2 separate regions of the Homo sapiens genome follow, and region 2 is linked to region 1. The links are contacts of gene promoters, found by promoter capture Hi-C in human tissues and cell types (Jung and others, 2019). All regions are on one chromosome and are shown on one strand. Each heading gives the region's core, a stretch centred on a gene start or on the middle of the fragment in contact. The rest is flanking DNA. Distances are from core to core; before and after follow the strand shown. Region 1 holds the start of SRRM3 (serine/arginine repetitive matrix 3). Region 2 has its middle 54 kb from the start of SRRM3.

The links. Contacts are between HindIII fragments. The study calls those that stand out against the background at their distance.
Region 2: a fragment that was not itself captured here is called in contact with the fragment with the promoter of SRRM3 in region 1 in 4 of the 25 tissues and cell types used here (IMR-90 fibroblasts, lymphoblastoid cells, mesenchymal stem cells and 1 more).

Annotation. Positions count from the first base shown.
Region 1 is chr7:76,200,646-76,204,034 of GRCh38, forward strand. SRRM3 (serine/arginine repetitive matrix 3) reads left to right here and starts at 1,251. Exons shown (of 15, transcript NM_001110199.3): 1 at 1,251-1,422. RefSeq lists a silencer at 1,098-1,337. The HindIII fragment of the contact is 14,936 bases long and covers 1-3,389 here.
Region 2 is chr7:76,146,146-76,149,262 of GRCh38, forward strand. No RefSeq gene overlaps it. Among named protein-coding and RNA genes, the nearest start is that of SRRM3, 54 kb to the right of the region's middle. The HindIII fragment of the contact is 4,745 bases long and covers 1-3,117 here.

The DNA.
Region 1 (3,389 bases), core at 1-2,500:
TGTTGTTTTTGTTTTTTTGTTTTGTTTTTGTTTTTGAGACAAATTGAGGCTCTGTCACCTAGGATGGAGTGCAATGGAGCAATCTTGGTTCACTGCAACCTTCGCTTCTCAGGCTCAAGCCTTCCTCCCACTTCAGCCTCCCAAGTAGCTGGGACCACAGGTGCATGCATGCCACCACATCTGGCAAATTTTTGTATTTTTCATAGAGACAGGGTTTCCTCATGTTGGCCTGGCTGGTCTCAAACTCCTGAGCTCAGTGATTTCCCACCTCAGCCTCCTAAAATGTTAGGATTACAGATGTGAGCCACTGCATCCAGCCAAAATTTTAAAATTTAAAAAAATAATTTAAAATCTCCTGTCTCCATTAGGATGTCTCTCACACTACACCCTCCTTTTTTTTTTTTTAAATTTTTGAGATGGTGTCAAAAAATGACAGCCTCTGTCATTCAGGCTGGAGTGCAGTGGCGCCACCATAGGTCACTGCAGCCTCAAATTCCTGGGCTCCAGCGATCCTCCCACCTCACCTCCCTGGTGCCTTTTATTTTATTTTATTTTATTTTATTTTTGACCCTAAGTCTTGCTCTTGTCGCCCAGTCTGGAGTGCAATGGTGCGATCTTGGCTCACTGCAACTCCGCCTCCCAGATTCAAGCGATTCTCCTGCCTCAGCCTCCCAAGTAGCTGAGTAGTTGGGATTACAGGTGCCTGCGACCACGCCTGGCTAATTTTTGTATTTTTAGTAGAGACTGGGTTTCACCATGTTGGCCAGGCTGGTCTCGAATTCCTGGCCTCAAGTGATCCTCCCGCCTCAGTCTCCCAAAGTGCTGGGATTATAGGCGTGAGCCACCGCGCCCAGCCCCTGGTGCCTTCTTTAACACTGGGTGGGAAGAGAGTGTCCTGGCGAGGCCTCTGCACACCGACTGCATTTCCCAGATCCAAACTAATAACCTCCCTTGCCCCAGGCGCCTTCCAGGGCTGACATGCCTCCTCTCGCAAGTGGGGGAAACAGATGTCCCCGGGGGCTGGGGATAGGGGCGGGGGTGTGGGGAGGTGAGGGGCGAGGGGAAGGGGGGGAGGGGGGCGAAGGGGGCGGGGAGGAGGGGGAGCCGGCCGGGAGACGGCCCGGCCCAGCCGCCCGGGCTGTTGCCTCCGCTGCGGGCGTTCCTCCAGGCCTGCGGAGGGCGCTGCGGGCGCGGGGCTGGGCCGCTCTGGCTGGCGGGCGAGCAGAGAGGCGCCTCGGTGGCGGTGCGCTGTCCAGCATTTCAGCAAGCGGCGGCAGCACCCGCGGGGAGGCAGAGGGTGCGGGGCCGTGGGGGCCGCGGAGCTGCCCTGCCCAACTCAGCCCAGACTAGGCGGCAGCCCGGACCGGCGGGACCCGAGGGCCTGGCCCCAGCGCCCGGTAGATCGCGGCGGTCAGCGGTGAGGTGAGAGCGCCTGTGGGGCGGGGGCATATCCCCGAGGGGCTGGGGCTGGGTGGAAGCTCGGGCCTCCCCAGCACCCCCGTGGTCTGCAGGCTCCCCCGAGCAGAGGGGCAGTGTGGGAGGTCGGCGAGGGCGTCTGTCCGGGGGTGCCAGGCGCCCGGGGAGCAGAGATGAGGAACATTCATTTCACTGAGAGGGATGGAGACAGTGGAGACCTTTGGGGTCATGGGCAGGACTCCCCTGGGCATAAATGACCATGGCCTAGTCCATGAGGGTGCCAGGGAGGCCCCCCAACCGCAGTCCCACTGAGGAGAAGGACCTGCTCCCCAGGGAAGGGAGGACCGATGCAGTAACCCTGTGGAGATGCTGGTCACTGGCCCTGGTGAAGGGAGCAGGCCCCCACCTGGATGCTGGGCCTCTGTCCAGCAGGAGGTGCCGGCCCAGGGGACAGCCTGGCCCCTTTCCCGGCTACCCAAATGCCCCTAGGGAGGCAGGAGCTGGCAAGGAGAACTGGGTCTCACAGGATGGCATTTACTCTTGCACTGGGAAGAGGATGGAGGACACAGAAGAGAAAATAGCTACTAGGAATTTGGGAGGGGGTTCTCTGTGCACACCCCCCACCCCAACCACGGACGCCCAGAGAGAGTTTCTAGCCCAGAGTTAGACCTGCGCCAGAGTGAATTCCTGGTAAAGAAGAGAGCTGAGAAAAGACGCAGCCTCTGCCTTGCCTCCGCCTCCCCCTCCCTCCCAGGGCTCCTGCCTGGACAGTGTTGAAGCCTCCTGCAGTTCCTACTCCTGACAGCAGATCCATTGTGGGGAGAGATTTAGTGGGAGGAAGGGAAGGTTGTACCAAGGTCTGACGTGGTACTTCAATGCCTGTGCCCTATCCCAGCCATAACTTCTCGCTGTCCTAAGACCTCACTCACCCTAGCATCGGGGGCTTGAGCTGGTCTTTTGTCCCATGGCAAGAGAAAAGGCAGGTGCTGGGCTTTGACGGAGAGACGTGCACAAGTTCCTCTGTCCAGGGAGCATCTTAAGGTCATGGCCCCAGTTTGTGCCAGCTTCTTCCTCAGTCAAAAATAGGACCCAGCTGGCTAGGAAATTGTTCCCACACAGCAGTAGCTTTCTGGTTCCTTAACTTTATGCCCCATCCCACTCTCCTGTGGGGTGGAGGAGGTATTCTTGAAGACTGACTAAAGAGTCAACTGGGTTTTAAGAGGTAGGGGTATGTGGGTTGGGAGTCATGGACTCTGATGTCAGAAAGACATGGGATCAAATCTAGGTTATGTGACCTCAGGTAAGCCATTGACCTTTCTGAGTCTGTTTTCAATCTGTAAAACAGGTGTAGTGTTAGCAATGTCTACTTTGCTGTTGAAAGAAATAATCTGGATAAGGAGATGGGAGACTACTTTTACGGTATAAAATGCTGGGTGAGTGTTAGTAAATAGGAGACAAGTAAGAATTTCTTAAAGAAGAGCTGGATAAATGTGGAATAGTGTTCAGTGATATTTGAAGCACATTTTTCTGTTCCCAGAGGAGATGAACAGTGGTTGAGAGCCTCATGCCCAGCTCCATGCTGGGCACAATGCAACGGTTGACTCAGCTAATCCTCACAGAAGCTTCATGAGGAAGGCATCATTGTCCCTATTTCATAGCTGAGAAATGAAGCTTGAGTGACTTTCCCAAGGTCATGAAGCCACTCGCGCTGTCCTCCTGGAGGCAGGAGAGTTACTGATGACCTGTCCCATCCTCTGAGTATCAAGGCCCAGTTCAATGCCAGTGTCTTGATTTATGATGCCAGCTTTACAGGTGGGGAGCCTGAGGCAGGTGGGTGAGGGCATACAGTGCAGTAAGGAGGTGACTCCCACAAGGTCACTGGGATACTTAGAGGTAGAATGTGCCTTGAACCGGCCAGCGGGGTGCCTCTACCCCGTCACACCTGCCAAAGGGGGGGTCTGGGTCTGACAGTC
Region 2 (3,117 bases), core at 578-3,077, 54 kb before region 1:
CGAAAATCAACTGTACAATGATTACTGAGTAATCATCTCAAATATAACTTCAGGTGCTGTTTAATGTCACCTTACAGCAGAGTTCTTAGACTCAGGTGTGCATGGGTACAATATTGGAAATTTGTCCAAAATGTAGAAACCCTGAGGCCTGGTGTGAGAAACACAGCCTTAGAGTTCTGGAAGGTCACTGAGAAACCATCACTTCTCCTCATGCCAAGGAATGAAGGACTAATGCATAGAACATAAAGGTACATAAAAACATACATGTCTTTGTTGTGTTACCAACACAATTATTGCATTTGAACTCTTATGCATTCAAACCTTAGACTAAATTACAAAGTGACTCTAAGCATTTCGTAATTTTCTACAAATGTTGATAGTGCAGGCCTGTCTACTATTTTTAACTCAGAAGGGAGTTCCATGGAGTTTAGCCCAGTATTTTGGAGCTAGAAGAGAGGATCGGTCATTGAGTCCAATACTCTACAGGTCAGAAAATGAAGGAGAGAGGGGTCACCCGTGCTCCTTTGGTCAAAGACTTCAGTTGAAGGGTCAAAGAGAATCCAGGCCATCTCCTGACTCGGGATTCTTTCAAGTTAGCAAATATGTGATGTTTTCATTACTCAGGAAAAGTGTATAGAACTACTTTCAAAAATATTTTAGGGACAATACACTAGAAGTGTTATCAAGAGATAAATTGCTTTGTAGTTAAAAAGTGAAAACTACAGCCTAAATGAAAGGAAGGGAGAATAAAAGGAAAATTGTATTTTTTTCAGCTGTCATTATAAAAGTGATGTTGCCCCCATTTACCAATGAAAAGACACTGAGGGCCACAGTGTCCCTCTGAGACCCTCTTTCCAGGGTCACATAGCTGAAATATGTGGCCAAAACAGTATCTTTCCCAAGGCTTATAACTGTAGGCCCTTGTACTACACTGTGCTATATCTGGTAGGAAAGAATATAGATACACAAACTAAAAAACATCACTTATTTTAAAACTCTTGTTATTTCATGAAATGGCAGACCATAATGATTTGGTGTGGACATTAAACAAAAAGAGTTTATACGCCTCATTAAGATAATTTTCTGGAGCTTTGAATCCATCGTTTATACATAATGTGTTCAGTATATTTTGTTTAGCCACAAAATCACAATTGTTAAATCTTTAATTACTGAAATATGAAGTTATGCAATTTATTTTTGAAAGCTGTGTATGCTACTCACCAGATTTTTGTTCTTTAAAAAATATTTTGTTTTGCAATTTTCCAAATACAGTAGACCCACAGTGCATATAGCAATCGTAAGACTTTATCAACCTCTGGTTTCTGAACTCACATCCAACATTCATTACTTTCCTCTATTGAAATTATTCCCCACTAGTGGAGTTTTTTTTTCTTTCTAGTGCAATGACATGTTACAGCATACCATCTGATTGTTTGTGAAATCAATTATTTAAATTAATTCAGGAAAAGTGCATGGAACTACTTTCAAACATCTTTTAGGGACAATTCACTAGAATGGCCCCTAAAACCAGTTATAAGATAAAACCAGGAATTGGATAACAATGATGGACAATATTGCCATTGTCATCCAAATCTTGGTTTTATCTTATAACTTAATTCAGAATGTTATTTGATGCCTACTTAATGGCTAGGGTTGCTATGTTTCTTAAATACTCATATTGTATTTCTAATGGTAATACCATAAATCTAAGCCTGGATCTTTCTTTTTACAACTGATATAAAGTGCATTATGATATTTTAACTGCTATTTACCTTCCTCAGAGAACTGCTGACTTTTCTATGCTGCATAAATATTTCTTATTTTAAGGTAATTTGTAATCTAATATTTTGAAGATTCCAAATACATATTTGAAAATAATATTTTCCTGGATTCTAAGTTGCAATAGGTTGAATTAACTCAAAGAAAACAACTTTCCATATGCAATAAGCTATTTGATTATCTGATTATCAACACCAAGGGAAAAATAGCGTTAATTGAAAAAATTATTTTTACTAATGGTTTTTTTTTTGAGATGGAGTCTCACTCTGTCGCCCAGGTTGGAGTGCAGTGGCGTGGTTTCAGCTCACTACAACCTCCGCTTCCCGGGTTCACGCCATTCTCCTGACTCAGCCTTCCGAGTAGCTGGGACTATAGGCACCCGCCACCACGCCTGGCTAATTTTTTGTATTTTTAGTAGAGACGGGGTTTCACCATGTTAGCCAGGATGGTCTCGATCTCCTGACCTCGTGATCCGCCCGCCTTGGCCTCCCAAAGTGCTGGGATTACAGGCGTGAGCCATCACGCCCGGCCACTAATGGCTGTTTTTTAAACGCTTTTTTGTATGTTGACTTCAATATGGGTTTGTTTGAAATTGTGCTGTTTCACATGTCAGATACAATAAAGCAGCTTCAGCAAAAAGATTCAACCGAAGAGAAGCTACAAGTCCCTCAACTTGCCCACATTCGCATTCCCACATTTCCAATTTGTTCCTCCTGCTTCAGTCAGTACCTATCCTTGGCACGGCTTCTTCTTCTTCTTTTTTTTTTTTTTGAGACGAAGTCTCACTCTGTCCCCCAGGCTGGAGTCCAGTGACGTGATCTCAGTTCACTGCAACTTCCGCCTCCCGGGTTCAAGCGATTCTCCTGCCTCAGCCTCCCAAGCAGCTGGGAATACAGGCGCCCGCCATTACGCCTGGCTAATTTTTTGTATTTTTAGTAGAGACGGGGTTTCACTATGTTGGCCAGGCTGGTCTCGAACTCCTGACCTCGTGATTCGCCCGCTTCGGCCTCCTAAAGTGCTGAGATTACAGGCATGAGCCACCGTGCCGGGCCCTCTCTCTTTTATTTAAAAGGATAGGCACAGCCTTTGGAACTGAATGTCTTTCTTCAGGCCTCACAATAGAAAATGAGGAAAGTCCATTCTGACAACTGGCTGCCTTAAGAAACAGAATTTGGGATTCTTTCCCTTCCAGCTCCTGTTGAGTCAAAGGCAAAGGCAATAACCCAATAAATGTGGTGAGACAGTAAATGGAAACTGACATAAACATAGCAATAAAAGCCTACTTCCTTCTTGACAATCAACATATAATGGAATGGGTATGATTTTACACCATAAAAG